Linked DNA regions of Homo sapiens: all the other regions are linked to region 3. Evidence: promoter capture Hi-C in 16 types of primary human blood cells and fetal thymus (Javierre and others, 2016). All regions are on one chromosome and are shown on one strand. The core of a region is centred on a gene start or on the middle of the fragment in contact, and the rest is flanking DNA. Distances in the headings are between cores, read along the strand shown.

Region 1 (3,412 bases), core at 539-3,038, 200 kb before region 3:
TGTGGAGTCTTCCATTTCTTTAACTAGCTGGCTTCCTTGTTGTGAATCATTTCTTTGTGCAGTCTGTAATTTTAGATTGTAAGTGGTTGTTTTGCATTAGCCTCTGCTGGAGTCTTATGGGTCAGCAACTGAAAAGGCTCCCAATACATATCATTGAATGACCTGTCTTTGGAGGTTAGGATGGGAGGCAGTACATTGTGGCAGAGGCAGCACAACCTCTTTCTTTTGTAAATTGCCCAGTCTTGGGTATGCTAGAGAATGTGCCCTAAGTTCACATCCTTATTGTGAAACTATTTATGTAACCTTGGGTAAATTACTCTTCTAGTCCTTTTTTTTTTTGTCTGTGATATAGAGATAATAATTCTTACTTCCTAGAGATGTTGTGAAGAATTGCTGAGTTAATATAAGAAACTCGGCACAACGTTTTGCATGTAATAAGTGCTTAATAGATGTTAAAAATTACTATAAACATGTGTAGCTATTATAGCACTTGCCAACATCATCTCCTTGCTTTGTGCTATAAGGAAAGAACTTTATACTCAAGAAAATAGCTCCTGAATACGTATATGAAATATACAGCCAGCCATTACACATGGACACTGGTCTGATCTGTTTGCTTTATTTGTGATGAATATTAGTTAAAGATGGGAACAAAGCCTCCCCCAAGAACATGTTCACTTGGCTTTTAGCCATTGCTGAGGAGCACTGATGAGAGGCGGAAGAAAGTTTTGGACATTTTTCTTTTTTAAAAATAAAGCCTAATTAGGGGGTTGGCTCATTTGCCAACTATTTTGGTTCATTAAAATATAGCAGCAGAGAGAGTTCTTCTGCTGAGAGGAAAATGACCCAGATAAATGTCTTCAGTTTTATTCAAAGAGAAAATGTATTTAACTTCTTGGCTATGCTTTCCTCGTTCATCATTCCCTTCCACAGACTAGTGATATGGTTTGGCTCTGTGTCCCCACCCAAATCTCATCTTGTAGCTCCCATAATTCCCACATGTTGTGAGAGGGAGCCAGTGGGAGATGACTGAATCACAGGGGCGGGTCTTTTCTGTGCTGTTGTGATAGTGAATGGGTCTCACAAGATCCGATGGTTTTAAAATCAGGAGTTTCCCTGGACAAGTTCTCCCTTTGCCTGCTGCCATCCATGTAAGATGTGACTTGCTCCTCCTTGTCTTCTGCCATGATTGTGAGGTCTCCCCAGTCATGTGAAACTGTGAGTTCTCCATTAAACCTCTTTCTTTTATAAATTGCCCAGTCTTGGGTATGTCTTTATCAGCAGCTTGAAAATGGACTAATACAGTTAGCGATAAAATAGCAGAGCCCTGAACCTGTAGCTGATGCTCAGTAAATATTATTAGTTTATTAGTGGGAAGGGATAGAGACACAGGCAAATTCTTGGGCAAGAGAACCTCATTTCTATCCCATGTTAACGTTTGATGATAAACCTTTCTTTAATTCACTGTGTTTTGAATCTTAGGACAAGGGAGTGCCAAAAAGCCAAACTTAGTGAATGAAAACTGTAGACTACTGTAATTTATCATGTAATATGTTATTAGTTATCTGTATATATTTCACAAAATGAGTTTTTATAATTCAAATTTTCATAAAACATTTACAAAGGTTCAACTTAAAAACATTTAAATAGAGAACTATTTTCAGATTTTAATTACCTGATCTTCATAATCAGATCCTGTATCAATGATCTCTCCAGTGTCCAATATCATCGAAGGATCAAGGTCACTTGAACCTAAGATTAGGAAAGAAAAGATAAGTGGATGGAGGTTGTCTATGTATGTTTCTAAAGCAAACAGTCTCTCACTAGGTTTCCATATTTTCCTATATCACATTAAATTCACAAACATTTCTAGACTGTTCTCATCTGCCAGGTACAATGTTTTGCTGGAGATTCAAAATGCAGAGACTCTGGACACTGTCTGCATCCTTAAGAAGAAGAAAATACTGTGAGGAAGAATAATTTGTCAACAAGAGTTATTATTAAAGGTTCAGCAACCCAAGAGAGTGAGCTACTAATTCTGATTAGTAGTAGAGGTGATGGTGGAGTTAAGATTCTTCATGAGGTACTAATCTATGATCCTGAATTTTGAGGGTGAATACAGGTTGTCCAGGAGGGGGAGCAGTTTCAGGATTTGCAACAATAATGGAAGTAGAAGGAACACCATGAGCAAAGTACAGAGTGGGAGGAGAGTAAGGGGTTTCCAGAAACAGGAAGGGCTAAGTTTGCGTACTCCCTGAAAACTCGAGTTTTTCCTCAAGCCTTCGGGTCACCTTAGTTGCTGAAGGTAAGAAAAATCGGGTTAACTTAATGTATGAATAGAGAGATTATTTCCCTTAGGTACTACAGGTTTCATTAAATCAGTTACCCATTAATCCCCAAGGCTCAGACTTAAACTGGTAATTTTTACAATGGGACTTCTGAAGCACAACTGATTCATCATTCTCATTTAATAACTCTTTCCTGCTAGGAAATATATATCATCTAACTACCCAGAAAGACTGAATTCAGTGCTGCCCATAAAATATTATATATCCTGTGAAAAAACATTGTTTCACTGTAAACTTGGCCTTGGCAAATCATTCTTAGTCAGAATATCCAATGAGTAATGCATAATGAATATAAATTTGTAAAAAATGTTAAGCATCTCATACACTTCTCAGATATAGACCTGTCCCCGATGTTGCTTTCATATTTTCTTTCCAAATGAGTCGGGGTATGTCCTTACACAGTCTTCTCTCATCTCTTCTCTTTTTTCCCCCTTCTCTTCTCTTATCATTGTCCCTGCTGTCTACCAACTTGACAAAGTAATAGCCATTACCAAATTGATTAAGTTCTAAGCAGTAATGCCAGTGTTTACTGTGTTTATATCTTTACATTTTTTACAGGATGATAAAGTTTTTCAAAATGGACATACTAAACCATCAAACCATTTTGGAAAAGTAATCATAGCGTTGCCATGAAGAGTTGCAGTTGCATAAGTGTGTTCAGAACAACCCTGGGTGATGCTAGTCATGCTGTCAGCACAGCCCTTGCCAGACCACTGTTCATAAGATGGCTGCTAGAATGGAGTTGGCAAGACTACCCACCATACTATTAACAGAGATTAGAAGGTAGAGGTGGGAAACTTTAATTTACATATGTATTTTAACATTAGTGGGATTATACATAATTTTTCTACCTTTGTACTTTTGGTATTTTTTTCAAATAAATAATTTTGTAAGGTGTATTTTGGGGCCAAAATACTCAGCCGTCGTAAAGCCCAGTTTGAAGGTCAGTTTGCACTTATGTTGTGAGGCAGTAAGTATCAGAAATAAAAAAAAAATCTATATATGTATTTTTCCCATTATAAGATAATAGACATTTTAGAACTATCAGGTTGGTGCAAAAGAAA
Region 2 (3,178 bases), core at 438-2,937, 220 kb before region 3:
TAGTTCCATGACAGCCAACAAGCTATCCAGTACACCTAAGAGTCATCCCTTTTGGAAATGTTAATTTAGTTTTGATTGACTAGCAATTGCTTAGGGTGATTTAACAATTGCTTTAGTTAATTAAAAGCTAGATAGTCTAAGAAGGAAAGAACTAGATTAAGGTTTACAAAAGTTAGGCTCTCAGATCAAACAGGTCGAAATCTTGAGCTCAGGGGAATAATAGAAGGTATCTTTGACATAAAAATTTTGCTTTGTCTGCTGTATGTGAGCCAGGAAAAGCTGAGGGGAAAAAAAAACCCTTTAAATACCTTTTTCTAAAATGCTTTCCTGCCTGCATCGACTAATCAAGTAAATCAGACAAACAAATAAAAAGATAAATTTATTGCCGGAATTCAAGGCCACCGGGGTATTTTGTTTTTCTACACAATTTAGTTGGTGCTATCTAAAATGAAAATGTTTGAATATTTAACCTCTGTACCAGTTTAAAACTTGAAGGAGAAAAAGAGGTTTCTAAAAATCAAACTGCTGTGGAAACTGCTTTACCCAAAGCTTTGGTCCACAGCCTTCATAAGATCACCTATCAGGGCAAATAAAATTTAGCCATGTGAACAGGTCCCATTTTGTCAGAAATATAATTTGGATTCAACTGTCCTTTTATAAACTGGTAAGTTTAAATTACTATGTTTTGCTGTCTCATGATTAACATTTCAAAATGAAAGCTAAAGAATCTGCTTCGATGTATTCATGTTGTCTGTATGTTTTTATGTTGCATGTATGTATTTTTCTACCAAAATATATCAAAGAGCTAATTAATTAATTAATTAAAGGGAAAAATTAAGCACTTCAATCAAGTATGTTATCAAAAACATAATAGCCACCTCAAAGTTTTTAAGTTCACCTGACTTGGGTAAATGTTTGATAAGTAAACTGATTTTAAAATTGTTGATAAAATAAAAACAGAAATGTCTTAAGAATTGTCAGCAAAGATTTGTGCCTGAGTTTACTGGTCAGGCAGTTTTACATTTATCTTTGTTAGATATATTTTAAGGAGTCAGTGTTTGACATGAATGTCATAGAACTATGAATCCATCCTAAAAAGAGAACGATCTTTGTTTATGTAATTCCTTGATAAGTAATACTAATTTAATATTGTTGATTTAATGAAAGCAGCTGTATTTTCTGAGTTATTGGCAAGATACTGAAGTATTTAACTTTATGGTTCTTAGTTGGGTGAGGAATGCTTAATAGTCACAGCCTGTAAAAACGGCTAACAAGGAATTAGCCTGAAATAATTACTAGCCTTGTCTAATATCTTAGTTTTCATAAGTAATATAGTTATAATTGTTAAAAATAAACAAATTAGGTGAATGTAAATGGTATAATCATTTATAAATTAATTCTTCTTAGTTTCAAAAAATCTTTTTGATAACTTAAAATTTTAAAGTTATGTTAAATTAAGTAACAGATACTCATTAAGTATCTGGGTCATTTCAAAATAAGATAAAATATTGAAACAAATTGCTGAACACAAATATAAGTTTGTTCTTGGCTTCTTAAATTTTATAGAAAAACAAATATATTTGGGTTCATTAATACACATTAAAATTATGAGGAAACATGTTTCCAAAATTATAAAATCATTCTTATATATAAAATACTGATATGGAACAGTTCAAAATTTCTTGCTTCCTACACTTTCATTAGAAATTAATGTTACTAAGAGTTTGAATTTTAATTAACATATATAATTCTGTATACAAAGCATACCAATAAATGTAAAATGTGTTTTGGGAGGAGAAGTTATAAGAAAGGGATAAAAATATGTTCTTTGTTGAGAAAAAGAAAAATTTGTCTAATTTAGAGGTTATTTAAAGATTGTTTCAAAATACGAATTTAGAAAGGAAATAGAAACAAGACAGAAAGGAACCAGTAAGTAGGAAACAGAGATGTGAAGAAAGTTTTAAGTGTGAAGATGTATTTTTGGCATGGAATGTTAGAAGTGAATAATTTTTCAAAATAACAAGGGAACAAGGAAAGTAAATTTTTATCCTAAGGTGACTTGTTATTTTAAAAAGCGAATGTATAGGACAAAACTAACGGCTTAAGCATGCCATCAAAGGTCTGTGCAGATCGTGAAAGGTTTTTGAGGGATGAATTTTATAAAAGGAGTTTTGTGTGTGTAATCAAGTTTGCTATAAATAAAAGGGAATTATGTATATCTTTCTAAGGATTAAGGATTATATACATAACTTAGTTTATAAGTTAAAACTTAATTTACAACTAAGATATAAAACTAAGATTTTGGTTTCTTATATTAGAACAACAGAGTTTTCTTGAAGTACTAATCTGCTCTTAGTAAAATTTGTGAAAGTCTTTGATTTTTAATTCTGTAAAATTTCAGCCATCTTCTAAACTGCAGCTTCTTTTTTTTTTTTTTTTGAGACAGAGTCTTGCTCTGTCACCAGGCTGGAGTGCTGGCGCCATCTTGGCTCACTGCAACTTCTGCCTTCCGGGTTCAAACGATTCTCCTGCCTCAGCCTCCTGAGTAGCTGGGACTGCAGGTGTACGCCACCATGCCAAGCTAATTTTTATATTTTTAATGGAGATGGGGTTTCACCATGTAGGCCACGATGGTCTCGGTCTCTTCACCCTGTGATCCCCTGGCTTCAGCCTCCCAAAGTGCTGGGATTACAGGCGTGAGCCACCATGCCCAGCCTCTGTTTTACAGTCTATTTACTTTCCCTAGTTTCAAATTAAAAGTGCTATGTTCTTCATTTAGGATGGTAATTTCATTTCTTGAGGTAAAGTTTTCCTCTTGAAGCTTTTCAGATTCATATCTCAGAAGTACAATTTTTGCTGTATCTTGCAGCACAGGATTTGAGGTCATACAACACTGCCTTCTGCTCTTCCTGTCCCTCCTTGAGAGGATACATCTTTTTGCTTGGCTAGGTTGATAACTCGCTCCTTCAACTTTTTCGTCAGCTCCTGAAACTTTTTTCTCTACTTCAAGCTCTGCTGTTATGACCTGATGCTCAAATGTTTGTCTTGAAGCCCTAGAAAAGCAATGTTCCCCTCCAGTATATCTTGATTCTGCAATCTTGGTTTTTCTTGATATGTTTGAATTGTTCCATCTAACCAGGCAATTTCATGTTTTCACTTTTTTAAAGAGCCATGTATT
Region 3 (3,351 bases), core at 593-3,092:
ATGTAAGATGTGCCTTTGCTCCTTCTTCATCTTCTACCATGATTGTGAGGCTTCCCCAGCCATGTGGAACTGTGAGTCCACTAAGCCTTTTTCTTTAGAAATTATGCAGTCTTGGGTATTTCTTCATAGCAGTATGAAAATGGGTTAATACAAGTAAAGTCTCATCAAAGTGTGGGTATGAAGTTACATCTGGTCATGAATTTGAGGCATAATCATTAATCTTGTCAGACATTATCTTATGTACAGGAAGAGGCAAGGGCTAGGATCACCAAACTTACCTTTTGTAAAAATTCAGTGATTCAGGCAAGAGATGTGCAAACCTATTCCCTATCCTGCTTATGGTCTTCAAGGCATTCTTCCACAAGGCTGCTCACAGTCAATGAGTCAGGGGCTTTGTGAAATATTGCTGGCAAAGGAGCAGAATGAGCAAATGGCTTCTTATCTTTGCTACTTTGTTTCATAATCATCAGCATCCAATAGATATCTGTTGAATTAATGAATACATGGAAGATATTCTGGCAGTGTATTTACTTTCTAGGATTCACGTAACGGAAAACCTAAATTTGACTAAATAGCATGAAACCTCTCACAAAGTGCAATAGCAAAAGAAACAAATAAAAGGAAAAGAGAGACAAGAGAATGGGAAAAGCAATAGCATAAAATATGGCAAAGGCTAATGTTACTTATTTATAAATATATTATTCAAATTCATATGCAAAACATAAATATATAAACAAAGAATTTACATCAGAGGACACAGAGATAGTTTAGAAACACAAGAAAGACATCAGATCTTGATAGTAACCAAAGAATTATAAGTATAGTTACCTAGGGGTAACATTTCATACCAAAGAATTTAAAGGAAAAAAAATGGTATGGTTTGGTGTTGTGTATTCTGATAGTGCTGTAAGCTTGTTCATTTTGGAAAGCAACATCATTTATAGTTATTAAAATGTTTTGGAATATTTTGACCCCAAATTCCTAGTTCAGGAAAATTATACAAACAAAATAATTCAACAGATTTAAAAAGCCAAACACACAAAAGATACTCTTTACAATATTATTTTCATAGTAAAACTTAAAAACTTTGCATTGTGCAGCAGAGGGACAATTACTTTGGCTGAGGCATCAATAATGGATGGAATTTTATCTCACCATTAAATGTTAAAATTGTGAGGAAGCAGCGTGGAAACGTTTATGTCATACTAGATGAAATGCATAAATTAAAACTGAACTCACATAATAAAGAGAATGGTGGACCATACATATACACCAGCTGTGTCTCTTCCAGATAGGCTTTAGTTCCATAATTACAGAAGATACTCAAGAAACAAAAACGTAACTAGCTTCCCATGTTAATCCTTTCACCAGGTAGTAGACCCCAAGCCTCTAAATTGCAGCGCCCACCCACATTTTCCATTTATAGTTTATCCAATTAATCATCTTTTTGTGCCAAAACGCTTGTTCTTCCCACCACATCCAGCTTCATATTTTCAAAGAATTGGCAGCACTCGGCAAAATAAATAAATAAATAAATAAATAAATAAATAAAATAAATAAGGGAACAGAGAAATAAGTTTTTAAAGTTTAAGGAGTTACGGGTTTTCCCTCCACTCACCTTTCAATTTTTTTTCTTAAATGTTATACCTATTTTACAACCTCCAAACTGAAAATGCAGTTAAAAATAAAAAGGTCAATATCCTGCGTCTACCTTGTCCCGGACTCTCGAGCTCCACAAAACCGCAGAGTTCTAAAGCCGGACCAGAGGGCCACCTCGAAGAGGCGCGGATGGTGTCGCAAAAACCCGCAGCGCTACTTTACGGCACTGCCTCCGCCCCTTCAGGTGCGGGAAGTCTGAAGCCGGTAAACATGGCCGTCACCGACAGCCTCAGCCGGGCTGCGACTGTCTTGGCAACTGTGTTGCTCTTGTCCTTCGGCAGCGTGGCCGCTAGTCATATCGAGGTAGGAGTCAGGCTCATTTGACCACAGCCGGGAGGCCGGCTGTGAGCCCTCCAGCAGATGTCCGATACACAGTAGCTGAGGGACGCCTCCTGGAGTCAATCAGCCCCTGACCCAGGCTGGGTTTGAGGAGGGTATCACTGGGCACGGGTTAGGACACTGTTGGTCTGTTTCAGCGTTTTAAAACGATGAATTGAAATAATCAAACCCTCGGAGACAGAGGAGGACCTGATCCTTTGCTCCTACATGTGTGCAGTTCTTAGGTGAAATACGAGCAAGAGGCTCGTGAAATGTCAGTGTGCAGCAACTGCTTTCCTACTACTCAACTGCAGCCCTCTGTTTTGATAGGAGTCAGACGGAACTGGAGAGATGAGGGCAATTTTAAGAATCCAGATAATAGAATTTAGTGATAATTAGAACATGGGATAAATATAAGTGTTTATTAAAACTCTCAAGTTTCTGGCTTAGGGGCAACACGTCTGGGTTAAGAAATGGAAGAGAAAAGGGGTGCTTAGTTTTATCCTGGGCTCCTCCAGCTTCCCATTTTTAAACGTGGACACAGGATGTTCTGGTGCTCTATAATGCTTTTACTATTCACCATACTCTGATGATTCCTCAGTCCCGGTCTACAATCTAGATGTCTGGTATCTTTTTCAGGCCTGCATATCCAGCTGACTAAGAATCCGGGATAGTCAGGAGACATTTGAAAATCCGTGTGCAAAGTTTTATCTTCTGCTTATCCTACCTCCTCTTAAAAAGACACTGAAAAACTAAGCACCCCTTTTCTCCTCCATTTCTCAACCAGATGTGCTGCTCCTAAGCTAGAAACCTGAGAGTCTTAATCTCTTTATCCCATATTCTAATTATCACTAAATTTTGTGATCTGAGTTCTTAAAATTGCCCTCACCTCTCCAGTTCCACTGACTTAATTCAGGCTGTGATCACTTCTTGTCTAGACTCTTGCGATTACTTTATCTTGTTTTCCATAGGCCTCCATACTCCCTGAGTTTGGTGCTAGATTCGTCTACACGAAATGTAAGCCTGATCAGGTTATTCTTCTGATGAAATCTTTTAAATATTTATTAATTGCATACAGAATAAAGTCTAAACGTTATGACCTGGTGCTTGCCTACTTTTCCAGTGTTCCATATTGGAACCTCTTCTCCCCACCACCTGGGCACCTTGAGCTTAGACCAGTGGACTCCAAACTTTTTGAATACACACCCTATCAGTTAAAAAAAGATATTGAGCATGAACTTCATATATATTTATGAATTACTGTTAATTTATATATTTGATGTTTATATAGCATAATTTTTAGAGAACATAAATATGAGTAAATAGAAGTTCTGTTTCCCTCCTTTATTCTAACTTTGACTGCTTCATCTTGGA

Evidence for each region. The method cuts DNA at HindIII sites, captures the fragments that hold promoters and counts their contacts. A CHiCAGO score of 5 or more calls a contact.
Region 1: a contact is called between a fragment that was not itself captured here and the fragment with the promoter of PIGK in region 3, in 3 of 17 cell types (total CD4 T cells, non-activated CD4 T cells and naive CD4 T cells). The highest score is 7.5, in total CD4 T cells.
Region 2: a fragment that was not itself captured here is called in contact with the fragment with the promoter of PIGK in region 3 in 4 of 17 cell types (total CD8 T cells, total CD4 T cells, non-activated CD4 T cells and 1 more); the score reaches 6.2 in total CD8 T cells.

The regions. Positions count from the first base shown.
Region 1 is chr1:77,415,979-77,419,390 of GRCh38, reverse strand. AK5 (adenylate kinase 5) reads right to left here. Exons shown (of 14, transcript NM_174858.3): 8 at 1,676-1,752. Among named protein-coding and RNA genes, the nearest start is that of AK5, 140 kb to the right of the region's middle. The HindIII fragment of the contact is 4,885 bases long and covers 1-3,412 here.
Region 2 is chr1:77,434,906-77,438,083 of GRCh38, reverse strand. All of the region lies in intron 8 of AK5 (adenylate kinase 5), which reads right to left. It overlaps LOC124904202 (a long non-coding RNA gene), which reads left to right and starts at 480. Exons shown (of 2, transcript XR_007066178.1): 1 at 480-664. The HindIII fragment of the contact is 2,272 bases long and covers 552-2,823 here.
Region 3 is chr1:77,217,921-77,221,271 of GRCh38, reverse strand. It overlaps PIGK (phosphatidylinositol glycan anchor biosynthesis class K), which reads left to right and starts at 1,842. Exons shown (of 11, transcript NM_005482.3): 1 at 1,842-1,962. The coding sequence starts at 1,870. It overlaps LOC105378808 (a long non-coding RNA gene), which reads right to left and starts at 1,752. Exons shown (of 3, transcript XR_001738109.2): 1 at 1,619-1,752; 2 at 279-484. RefSeq lists an enhancer at 2,049-2,158. The HindIII fragment of the contact is 2,966 bases long and covers 914-3,351 here.